Linked DNA regions of Homo sapiens: regions 1 and 2 are each linked to region 3. The links are contacts of gene promoters, found by promoter capture Hi-C in blood cells and fetal thymus (Javierre and others, 2016). All regions are on one chromosome and are shown on one strand. Each heading gives the region's core, a stretch centred on a gene start or on the middle of the fragment in contact. The rest is flanking DNA. Distances are from core to core; before and after follow the strand shown. Region 1 overlaps ZMYM1 (zinc finger MYM-type containing 1). Region 2 has its middle 3.9 kb from the start of GJB3. Region 3 holds the start of TMEM35B (transmembrane protein 35B).

What was found. The method cuts DNA at HindIII sites, captures the fragments that hold promoters and counts their contacts. A CHiCAGO score of 5 or more calls a contact.
Region 1: a fragment that was not itself captured here is called in contact with the fragment with the promoter of TMEM35B in region 3 in 2 of 17 cell types (endothelial precursors and megakaryocytes); the score reaches 6.6 in endothelial precursors.
Region 2: a contact is called between a fragment that was not itself captured here and the fragment with the promoter of TMEM35B in region 3, in 1 of 17 cell types (megakaryocytes). The highest score is 5.6, in megakaryocytes.

What each region holds. Positions count from the first base shown.
Region 1 is chr1:35,112,733-35,116,788 of GRCh38, forward strand. ZMYM1 (zinc finger MYM-type containing 1) reads left to right here. Exons shown (of 10, transcript NM_024772.5): 10 at 245-3,127. The coding sequence ends at 2,527. Among named protein-coding and RNA genes, the nearest start is that of ZMYM1, 35 kb to the left of the region's middle. The HindIII fragment of the contact is 1,440 bases long and covers 762-2,201 here.
Region 2 is chr1:34,775,254-34,779,362 of GRCh38, forward strand. No RefSeq gene overlaps it. Among named protein-coding and RNA genes, the nearest start is that of GJB3, 3.9 kb to the right of the region's middle. The HindIII fragment of the contact is 1,821 bases long and covers 1,235-3,055 here.
Region 3 is chr1:34,983,455-34,987,423 of GRCh38, forward strand. TMEM35B (transmembrane protein 35B) reads right to left here and starts at 1,893. Exons shown (of 3, transcript NM_001195156.2): 1 at 1,744-1,893; 2 at 313-493. The coding sequence starts at 1,851. It overlaps ZMYM6 (zinc finger MYM-type containing 6), which reads right to left. Exons shown (of 16, transcript NM_007167.4): 16 at 2,711-3,969. The coding sequence ends at 3,650. RefSeq lists silencers at 1,452-1,521, 1,582-1,871. The HindIII fragment of the contact is 1,524 bases long and covers 1,150-2,673 here.

The DNA.
Region 1 (4,056 bases), core at 232-2,731, 130 kb after region 3:
TTGAGTCATCTGAGCAATAAAAATTATTTTTATGACAATTACATACCAAAAGGTCCTTCAAACATTTAATGCTGAATCTAGATTGCAAATAAATAAGTTATACGTAATTGTTAACGTTTCCCCCTAGTGGAGCTCATACTGTAACTCAGCCATTTATTTTACTATGTTATTAGAGTAGATATATTTGATATTTTAATTAATTTTTGAAAACTGTTAAATGTTCTTTTCTCATTTTCTCCCAAAGCTTTCTAAGAGTTCACCTAGTGAACCCAGTAATGCTGTTGCTAGTAGTAGTACGGAACAGCCAAGCGTTTCACCATCTTCATCAGTATTCAGTCAGCATGCAATTGGTTCCAGTACAGAAGTACAAAAAGACAATATGAAATCTATGAAAATAAGTGATGAACTATGTCACCCAAAATGTACATCCAAAGTACAAAAAGTTAAAGGTAAATCACGAAGTATTAAAAAATCTTGTTGTGCAGATTTTGAGTGTTTGGAAAACAGTAAAAAAGATGTGGCATTCTGTTATTCATGCCAGTTGTTCTGCCAAAAATATTTTAGCTGTGGAAGAGAGTCATTTGCAACCCACGGAACTTCTAATTGGAAAAAAACCCTGGAAAAATTCAGAAAGCATGAAAAAAGTGAAATGCATTTGAAGTCATTGGAATTTTGGAGAGAATACCAATTTTGTGATGGAGCTGTCAGTGACGATTTATCTATTCATTCGAAACAGATTGAGGGAAATAAAAAGTACCTAAAGCTTATAATTGAAAATATTTTATTTCTTGGAAAGCAGTGTTTACCCTTAAGAGGAAACGACCAGTCAGTTTCATCTGTGAATAAAGGCAATTTTTTAGAATTGTTAGAAATGAGAGCAAAAGATAAAGGAGAAGAAACATTTCGACTTATGAATTCACAAGTTGACTTCTATAACAGTACACAAATTCAAAGTGATATTATCGAAATAATAAAGACTGAAATGTTGCAGGATATTGTGAATGAGATCAATGACTCCTCAGCATTTTCAATCATATGTGATGAGACAATCAATAGTGCCATGAAAGAACAGCTTTCAATTTGTGTAAGATACCCACAAAAATCATCAAAGGCTATCTTAATTAAGGAAAGATTCTTGGGTTTTGTTGATACTGAGGAGATGACTGGGACCCACTTACATAGGACTATCAAAACTTATCTGCAGCAAATTGGAGTTGATATGGATAAAATACATGGCCAGGCCTATGATAGCACCACTAATTTGAAGATAAAATTTAATAAAATAGCAGCAGAATTCAAGAAAGAAGAACCAAGAGCTTTATACATACATTGTTATGCACACTTTTTGGATTTATCAATAATTAGGTTTTGTAAAGAAGTAAAAGAACTCCGAAGTGCTCTAAAAACTCTCAGTTCTTTGTTCAACACTATTTGTATGTCTGGGGAAATGTTGGCAAATTTTCGAAACATTTATAGGCTAAGTCAAAACAAAACATGCAAGAAACATATATCACAATCATGTTGGACAGTCCATGATCGTACATTACTATCTGTGATTGACAGTCTTCCAGAGATTATTGAAACATTGGAAGTTATAGCAAGCCATTCTTCAAATACAAGTTTCGCCGATGAATTGAGTCATTTGCTGACATTGGTTTCCAAATTTGAATTTGTCTTTTGTTTGAAATTCCTGTATCGAGTGCTGAGTGTTACAGGAATTCTTTCCAAAGAGCTTCAAAATAAAACCATAGACATTTTTTCTTTGTCTTCAAAAATAGAAGCAATTTTGGAATGTTTATCATCTGAAAGAAATGACGTATACTTTAAAACAATCTGGGATGGAACAGAGGAAATATGTCAAAAAATAACCTGTAAAGGTTTTAAAGTTGAAAAACCTTCTCTTCAGAAAAGAAGAAAAATTCAGAAATCAGTAGATCTTGGCAATTCAGATAATATGTTTTTTCCTACTTCAACAGAAGAACAATATAAAATTAATATCTATTACCAAGGATTAGATACTATATTACAAAATTTAAAGTTATGTTTTTCGGAGTTTGATTATTGCAAAATAAAGCAAATTTCAGAACTGTTATTTAAATGGAATGAACCATTAAATGAAACAACAGCAAAACATGTTCAGGAATTTTATAAACTTGATGAGGACATTATCCCAGAACTTAGATTTTATCGACATTATGCAAAGCTTAACTTTGTCATAGATGATAGTTGCATAAACTTCGTCAGTCTCGGCTGTTTGTTTATTCAGCATGGTCTTCACAGTAATATTCCTTGTCTCTCAAAGCTATTATATATTGCTTTGTCTTGGCCAATTACTTCAGCAAGTACTGAGAACTCATTTTCTACCCTGCCTCGTCTTAAGACATATTTATGTAATACCATGGGACAAGAGAAGCTTACTGGCCCAGCCCTAATGGCTGTTGAGCAGGAGTTGGTAAATAAACTAATGGAGCCTGAAAGACTCAATGAAATTGTGGAAAAGTTTATCAGTCAGATGAAAGAAATATAATACATGCTCATTTGAACTTACCTAAAAGACTTGTATTTCCATTGGGATGTTTTCATTTCAAAATTGTTCAAAATTCAAAAGACACAGAACGATAAACAGTGAAGTCTCCTTCCCTCCTTTAGAACTCATTTTCTCTTCCCAAAAAGTGTTATCTTTTCCTTAAATATCCCTCTAGAGGTATTTTTCCTAAGTGGTATTGTACGGTGTATACTGTTCTTCAGCTTGTCTTCTCTGTGTAACATATTTTTGAGATTGTCCCATGTCGTTACATGAAGAGTTTCTTGATTCTTGGTCTATAATTGCAGATGTTATTGTATGAATGTACCATAATATATTTGAGCAGTCCCTGCTGACATTTTTTTCCTAACCTTTTGCTATTATAAATAATGATTCATTTTATAACCTTTTATATAGGTCACATTGCACATGAGTGAGTTTACTGTAAGCTGGAAATCTAAAGTTAGAATTACTAGGTTAAGATATGTGCATTTTTACTTTTGATAGATATTGGCAAGTTGCCATCTATAAGGATTGTGCCAGTTTACAGTCCCACCCACAATGCATGAGAGTGCCTATTAAATCTTTGTAAGTGTTATCAAATGTTTTGATCTTTCCTAATCTCTTACTTTAAAAATGGCGTTTTAATCTCAGTAGAATTTTGTATATTCACTTAAGAATAAGGTTGGGGACTGGGCGTGGTGGTTCACACCTATAATCTCAGCCCTTTGAGGGCCTACACAGGAAGGAAGATCGCTTGAGGCCACGAGTTCAAGATGAGGTTGGCAACATAGTAAGACCTCATCACTACAATTTTTTTTTTTTTAAATTAGTGAAGTGTGGTACTGCACACCCGAAGTCCCAGCTACTTGGGAGGCTGAGGCAGGAGGATTGCTTAAGCCCAGAAATTTGAGGCTGCAGTGAGCCATGATTGCACCACTATGCTCCAGAGTCTAGGCAACAGAGTGAGACCTTATCTCTTTAAAACAAACAAGAATGAAGTTAGGTATCTGTTTATTTGTTTGAGCCATTTGTATTTCCTTTTTTGTAGACTGTCCTGTTTAAACGTTAAAATCACTGCTGTGGTTTTGATTTATACATCTCAGCTGGATGGCACAATAAATTATTAAGCCATGTTATGAAAATATAACTATATTTAAGTAACCTGCAAAGAAAAGACTATTTCTTTATACTTCAAAAAAGTTTTGTTTTTGTTTTGAGATGGAGTTTTGCTCTTGTTGCCCAGACTGGAGTGCAATGGTATGATCTCGGCTCACTGCAACCTCCGCCTCCCAGGTTCAAGTGATTGTCCTGCCTCAGCCTCCCAAGTAGCTGGGATGACAGGCGCACGCCACCACGCCTGGCTAATTTTTGTATTTTTAGTAGAGATGGGGTTTCACCATGTTAGCCAGGCTGGTCTTGAACTCCTGACGTCAGGTAATACGCCCACCTGGGCCTCCCAAAGTGCTGGGATTATGGCATAAGCCACCACGCCCAGCCAGAAAAGTTTAAATAACAAAGAAAATGTGATA
Region 2 (4,109 bases), core at 895-3,394, 210 kb before region 3:
AGCAAATGGGTAGGGGCAAAGGCTAAAGCAGGAAGACCAGTTACAAGGCTACTGCAATCATCTAGGAAAGAAATGGTTCTTGATTTCATGTTACCCCAATAATATTAATGGAGTCAGCGAGAAGTGGCCAGACCCTATAAATATTTTGAAAGTGGCACCAAAATGATTCACAGACATTGAATGTGGGATATGGGAAAAGAGGATCAATGAAGACTCAAAGGTTTGGGGCCTGAGCAAGTCGATGAGTAAAACTGCCATTTACTAGAACAAGTGAGAGAAAAGGTCAGAGAGGAAGAAAAGGAATAGGTTGCCAGATGAGCAAATTTCAGACAAACTTTTTTTTTTTTTTTTTTTTTTTTTTTTTTTTGGAGATAGAGTCTCACTCTGTCACCAGGCTGGAGTGCAGTGGCACGATCTCGGCTCACTGCAACCTCCACCTCCCTGGGTTCAAGCGATTCTCCTGCCTCAGCTTCCTGAGTAGCTGGGACTACAGGCACGCGCCACCACGCCCAGCTAATTTTTGTATTTTTAGTAGAGATGGGATTTCACCATGTTGGCCAGGATGGTCTGGATCTCTTGACCTCGTGATCTGCCCTCCTCGGCCTCCCAAAGTGCTGGGATTACAGGCGTGAGCCACCGCACCCAGCCAACAATTTTTTAATGTGTGTCCCATGTACTAGCTGAAATTCAGAATTAACTGGGTGTCCTGGTTGTGCTTTTGCTTTGTTCCTAAATCTGGCAACCCTAGTAAGTAAGGAGCTTAACATAGGTTTGTGATACCTATGTTAAACATCCTAGGAGAAAGTTTACTAACAGCTGGACACATGAGTACAGAGTTTAGAGGAATGGTCTGGGCTGGGGATACGTATTTAGCGGTTGTCAGCTAAATTTTCGTATTTTAAACCCTGAGACTGGATGATGTTACCAAGTGAGCAAGGGAGGACAGAGAAGAGAAAGAATGCAAGGACTGAGCCTCAAGGCATCCCAGTTCTTAAAAGTCAGGAAGATCTGGAGTAACCAGCAAAGGAGACTGAGAAAGAAAGTGCAGAAAGGAAGTAGAAAAGTCAGGAGAGTGTGATGCCTCTGAAGCCAAAGGAATAGTGTCAAGGCGAGAGGAATCAACTTCATTCAACGCTGCTGAGGGTTCAGGGAAAGATGAGGGTTGAAACTTGGCCATGGGGTTTAGCTATAGGGACTTTGACAAGAGCAGTTTTGGTGTCATATAGGAAGCTAAAGCTTGATTAGAGTAAGTTCAAGAGAAGATGAAAGAGAAAAAATGGAGATAATGAATCAGGACAAGTCTTTGGATAGATTTTGCTGTAAAGGAGTGGAAAGAAATGAGGCAGATGCTGGAAGGAGAAGTGGGGTTCAGGTTAAGGTGTCTTGTTGTTTTGTTGTTAAGATGGAGAAATACCCACATGGTAACAGGAAAGATCCAGTAAAGAGCAAAAGGTCAATGATGGAGGAGGAAGAGAGGAGGTGGAGGGAGGTGCCTGGTGGGTAAGAAGGGGTGCGTGCATATTAGAATGGTATGGTTGGCTCCTGACAGCAGCTCAGCAAAGTCACGTATTACCTCCATTCGAGGAGCAAGGTGTGTGGGCAGAAGTTTCGAGCAACTCTAGGTGTCTTGGAAAATAAGCAACACTCCAGCCCAGGGCCTCCCTGGAAGATCGCCTCCTCCCTGCCTGCAGCCCCAGACATGCCTGAGCAGGGCTCAAAAGCCCCCATCCCTCTGCCTGATCTGTTTCCCATGGCTTCTGCCTGCCCCACCTCTCCACTCAAGGAAGGAAAGGGCCTCATGCCTCTGCTGCAGACACACAAAGATAAGGAAAACTCCAGTCTGAGAGGTGGCAGGGGTGGGGGGCGGGGTGGTCTTCCCATCTCAGGAAGCACCTGCCTGAGGCCTGGGCAGAGCTCTAGGTGGAGAGGACAGCCTGGGAGCAGCACCGCCTGGGCCAGGGCCAGGGCCAGAAGAGGTACAGGCTCTGGCCCTGCCACCCCTAGAGAGCAGGTGTAAGCCCTGAGGGCAGCTGCCAATCCCTGGTGCAACACAGCTTTGTCCTGAGGCAGGGGGATGGCCTAGATGGCCTCCTACACATTCCCCTACTCAGGGAGCAGAAATTTAGGGCAGGACCACAAGGCATTAAGGTTCTCAGAGCCATTCTCTCTGGAATGGGGAACTCTTCCAGCTCACTCCAGAAAAAGCAAAGGCCAGTTGTTGGGGGCACTATCTCATATCAAGAGTGAAAAGCCAGCATCTGGCAGAGTCAGAATGACAGGACCTAGGTGATAAAATCACCTGGTTACCAGAGCAGAATAACCCAACCACACACATAGACACCACTACACACCACCACAACCACATATGCACACAGCCTCCCACACCACCCCAGCCATCTCCATCATCACACACATTCACAACCACACATGCACACAGCCTCCCACACCACCCCAGCCACCTCCACCATCACACACATTCACAACCACACATGCACACAGCCTCCCACACCACCCCAGCCATCTCCGCCATCACACACGTTCACAACCACACATGCACACAGCCTCCCACACCACCCCAGCCACCTCCGCCATCACACACGTTCACAACCACACATGCACACAGCCTCCCACACCACCCCAGCCATCTCTGCCATCACACACGTTCACAACCACACATGCACACAGCCTCCCACACCACCCCAGCCATCTCCACCATCACACACACTCACAACAACGCACATCAAAGCCTACACACACGTGGCCCACATACCACCCTTAACACACAGCTCTCCAGGCTTACACACACAGAAACAGTTCTCGCACATAACCTTATGTGCACCCAGTGTTTACAAATAGTGACTGAGAGTCTGTACATTCCAGGCCCTGGTAATGTGGCAGGAACGTGACCAGGGAGCTCCCTGCTCTCCTGGAGATAATTTCAGAGACGGCTGTGAAGAGTGTCTGCTGAGGAAGTGGAGCAAGGAACATTTGGGGTGGGGGTGGGGGAACCAGGGAACACCTCTGTAAGAAGGTGAGACCTGAATAAGGAGGAGGAAGCTTCCAAGTAAAGAGTCAGGAGAAGGCAGTCCAGGCAGAGAGAACAGCAAAGGCAAAAACCAGAAGGCTGACCTGAATGTGGCTTGTTCAAGAACCAGAAAGAAGGCCACTACAGCGCCCAAGGGGATGAGAGATGGGGGAGAGGCAGGACTAGGTCGCCTGGTGCCTTGGGGCTCAACGTCAAGAGAGTGGATGCCAGTCTAAAGTTAATGATAAGTCACTGTAAGGTTTTAAGAGGGAAGTGGCATGATCTATTAGGTTGGTGCAAAAGTAACTGCGGTTTTTACCATTACTTTCAATGGCAAAAACCACAATTACTTTTGCACCAGTCTAATAGATCGTTAAAACACTACTTCAGCTAGAAGCAACCACGGGAAAAAATGTTATTGCAGTCCTCAGAGTGGTGAAGGCATTTCTAATGACAACAAAACCCAAGGGCCATAAAAGATAATATTAATACACTGGACTACATAAAACATGTTTAATTCTGTATGGCAAAACCCCCGTCTATAAAGTCAAATCACAGGTGTCAAGAAGCAGCAGAGGCAGAGGGAATCCTTTCTATTTGTATCACAGACAGAGGAGGGCTTATTTCTTTAGTATGTAAAGAGCTCCTGAGAAATAAATAATAAAAGTCAACCATCCAATAGAAAAATGGCAAAGGCAAAGAACTGTTCACAGGATAACAAACAAAAGCGGCCCTTAAATATGTGAAAAGATGCTCAATCTCACTCATACCAAGAGAAATGCAAAATAAAGTATGATGAGATATCATTGACAAAGATCATAAAGCTTGATAACGCTCTCTATTGGTACGTATATGGGGATACAGGCACTCCCTTGTCCCTTGGAGTGCAAACTGAAACATCTGTGAAGACGATTGGGCAATATGTATCAAAATTTTAAATACACATACAACTTTAAAGCAAACATTTCACATGTAGGAATATGTCCTGTAGACACAATTTTCAAATGTGTTCAATAATGATTATCCAAGGATAGTCACGCAATGGTATTTGTAATAGAATGAAATAAAAAAGTGGAAACAGCCT
Region 3 (3,969 bases), core at 643-3,142:
TGTAGTCCCAGCTACTCGGGAGGCTGAGGCAGGAGAATGGTGTGAACCCAGGAGGCGGAGGTTGCAGTGAGCAGAGATAGTGCCACTGCAGTCCAGCCTGGGCGAAAGAGCGAGACTCCATCTCAAAAAAAAAAAAAAAAAAAAAAAAAAATACCTGTGCTAGTTTGAAGACCATGGAAACTGTGGTAGAGCAGAAAGTGCTCTTGATCCCAGAGAAAAAAGAAGGGTGGCAACAGTAAGGGGGAACAGCCAGGTCTTTCCATAATCCTCCCCCAGAAGACCCCATTTTCTCAGGCCAGTTGGCCCCCTTACCCATCATGAGCAGAATCAAGAACAAGTTACTGATCTCTTGCAGCATCGGTGGGCCCATGACCAGCAGCAACCCAGCCAGCAGTTCCAGAAAGCCCACAGCTATTTGGTAGTTCAGGGGATCTGGCTGGTAGCCAAATACCTTCAGCGGGAACACCTCAGCAAACTGCACGAACAGGGCATTCTAGGGGTGGCAAGGAATGCCTGTTAGCCTCATTGTTCAACAAGGATGAGCTCCCCAGATGCTCCATGGCATATCTATGCCTGTGCCCTCAACTTCCCAGAGAAAAGAACTACTACTCTAGGTCAGGTCCAGGGCTGAGGTCAGCCTGAAGAGGAGAGGGCTGCCCTGTGGCGCTGAGCTTTGGAATCAGGAAACAGGCTCCATGCTCCAAGTGGTACAGAGATTGATCTTCTCACTAGACCTCTCAAGAGATTACAACCCAGCCCCAAATCCCAGGAGGAGGGGGCTGGGCTTGGCTCCCTAGTGCCAAGGCCTGGGGAATTCCACAGTTTCCTTCTTTGTGTCTGGCCTGGTTTCTCTTAAGGCTGCTGTACAGGGAATATTTGGAGGTGAGGCAGAGTTAGGTGGGCTCAAAGTGACTCTTCTTGTCAAGGCAGGCCCTCCCCTGAGCCAAATGACAACTTCATCCTTACTTTCGGGGATACTTTTTCCTGTTCCCACTCCTCAGCTCTACCTCCCCTCCTCAGCTCTGCTGGGAAGCAGCTCTAAGCTGTCTGTCTCTGGGGATTTATCCAGGCCTTGGAGAGAGATGCCAGCAGAGGTCTACAAGTCTGGCTCTTTTGAGGGACTGGGGAGATTGGTGAACAGGATATGAAAGCTTTCCCATGAGTCTGGAACTAGACAGAAGGCTGAAAGACGACTTCAGGGCATCCCTCTCAGGCTTCCGAGAGAGGCTTCCCTCTCTGGGTTCCGAGTTAGGAGTGTCTAGCTTGTGTCCTGCTTCCTGACTAGATGTGCAATCTTTAGCAGATATACTTGCCCTTCAGGGCGGGCTTCCTTCCCTGCAAAGCCAGGATTACTACACCCCAACCCCACGAACCTCCCAAAAACTGAAGCAAACGGCGAAAAGAGGGAAGAGAGCGGGAAGTGAGCTCATTTTCCCACCGCATCATCCTCCCCCAGGGTCCGGGGGGGTGGGAGGGACCTCCTAAGGCTCTAGATTTGCCTGGGGCCACCAATATTCTGCAGGAAGGGGAGGTTCTGTCCCCTTCCGTCTAGGGAAGATCCAGAGAACTCGAGGAACTCCCCAGGCAGGACCTGCGCCTCAGTCGAAAGCCAGGCGCTTTCCCCCAGCTCCAGCTGAGCCTCGGAAGCCCGAAGGCGGCCTGCCGGGCCGGGGGCGAGGAGCGGCAGGGCGGAGCACACGCCGCCGCGGGCCCGATCCCCTGCCGCCCGCCCGCGCCGCTCACCATCCGCTCCGAAACTGGAGCCGAGATCTCCTCCGAGAGCTTGGCCAACCCCACGAGCGCGAAGAAGCCGCCCAGCAGTACACGCAGCACCGAAAGCAGGAGCGCCATGGCCGCGCTCCCCCCACCGTGGGTTGGCCCCGCCGAAAACCCGCCCCTGCCGCCGGCTCATTTCCTCCCTCCCCGGGGCAGCCGGAAGACTCTCGCCTGAGCTACCGTCCCCCACCCTCCAGGGGGTCGCGAGGCTGCAGTACTGGGGCAGGGCGCCCCCATCTTACAGGTGGGGACACTTGAGGACCACTGGCTGGTAACTGACTAAACAGGCACCTTTGGATTCAGGGAGTGTTTCCCAGCCAATACGGAGTGCTGGCAGACACGGGTGGGTGTCTGGGTGCGGTTCAGCTACCATCAAAAGACCCCGGGCTTCGTTCCTGCCTGTGCCACACTAGCTGTGGGATCTGAGCTGTCACCCACCCCAAAGGGCCTCAGTATCTGCATCTGTATATGGGGATAACTCAGTTCTCCAGAGTTTGTAACAGGCCTAGCACAGTGCCTGCACATGTAAGAGCTCAGAAAGTTATTTGTAAATTAGTAAATTAATTTATAAAATTGTAATAAATCAATAACCATTAATTATTAAATAAGTCTCTTTGCCTGAGATATCTTTTCCCTCTAATTTATCTCGGCTGACAATGAAATGTGAAAGGTGTTTGAAAATTCAGATACTTGCATGGATAGAGAGGCTTTCACTGAACCAAGCCCTACAGTCCACTCCTGGCCCATTTGCTCTTACCTGGAAATCTGTCTAAAGCTGGGATGGGCAAACCATGGGCCAAATTTGGCCAGATGTCTGATTTTTTTCCATGCTTCTCCCCTTCCCCCAAGCTAATAATGTTTGTTTACATTTTTTATGATAAAAACATTTTTTAAAGAAGCTTGTGTGACATAGGAAAATTATATGAAATTCATATTTCAGTGTTCATGAATAAGTTTTATTTAAAAACAGCCACACTTATCTGCATATTGTCTATGGCTGCTTTTGCACTGCAACTGCAGAATTGAGTAGTTGTGACAGTATGGCCTGCAAAGCTGAAAATATTTACTATCTGGCTCTTTATTTAAAAAGTTTGCTAAGCCCTGGTATATTGGGCCAGAAAGGCCCCAAGCAGGGGTCTCAAATCCCCCTGCTGCTTCCATTTATAGTTACCCAAGCTGCTTAGATCTATCTTTTTCCAGCTGGGCACGTTGGCTCACACTTGTAATCCCAGCACTTTGGGAGGCCGAGGCAGGTGGATCACTTGAGGTCAGGAGATAGAGACCAGCCTGACCAATATGGTGAAACCCCGTCTCTACTAAAAAAAATACAATAGACGGGCATGGTGGCACATGCCTGTAACCCCAGCTACTTGGAAGGCTGAGGCAGGAGAATTGTTTGAACCTAGGAGGCAGAGGTTCCAGTGAGCCAAGATCACGCCATTGCACTCCAGCCTGGGCAACAAGAGCAAAACTCCATCTCAAAAAAAAGATCTATCTTTTCCACCTACTCACAACCTTGCAGGGGTAAGTAGCTGGTTGGCTAGAAGACTGAAATGTTCCACTTGCTTCTAAAGGCCAAGCTGTTTCAACATCCAGGTTGTGCTGTTACATTATAAACTGGGCTTCTCATTACCTGCAGTCTTTGTCACTAGTCCAAATTTAATGAAATAACTAAATTTTCTACCCTAGATTATAATTATACATAATTATTTATAACAATCATAATTATTAAATTCCTCAACAAAAAGGGAAAAATTATTAAAACATTTAATCACTGAAAACACAAATCCACATTAGGAAATTATCTTTTAGGATACTTATACAAAACTTAACACAGGATTATTGACTTCACTGTTAAGCAATGTGCATATTGCTACTCTTTCTCCTTCACTAATTTTTCTATCCTTGGAATTAAAGATGTGACTGCAAGTCTTAGGGCAGGGCCAGAACCCAACAGATTTTTTTGTTTTGACTCAGTCAAAGCTGAAAAGGCAGCATCACATAAATAAACAGTTGAAAAGGGTAATAAAAATTTCATTGCCCTTTCATGGAGTTCTGGGTAACTTGTCTTTGCATTTATCCAAAACTGAGTTACAGACACTGATTTAAATAGTGCTTGTAATCCTAAATCTGAAGATAGCTCTGTTAGCTTTTCTTCTTCGAAGTCGGTGAGATTATTATTTTGGTGATTCA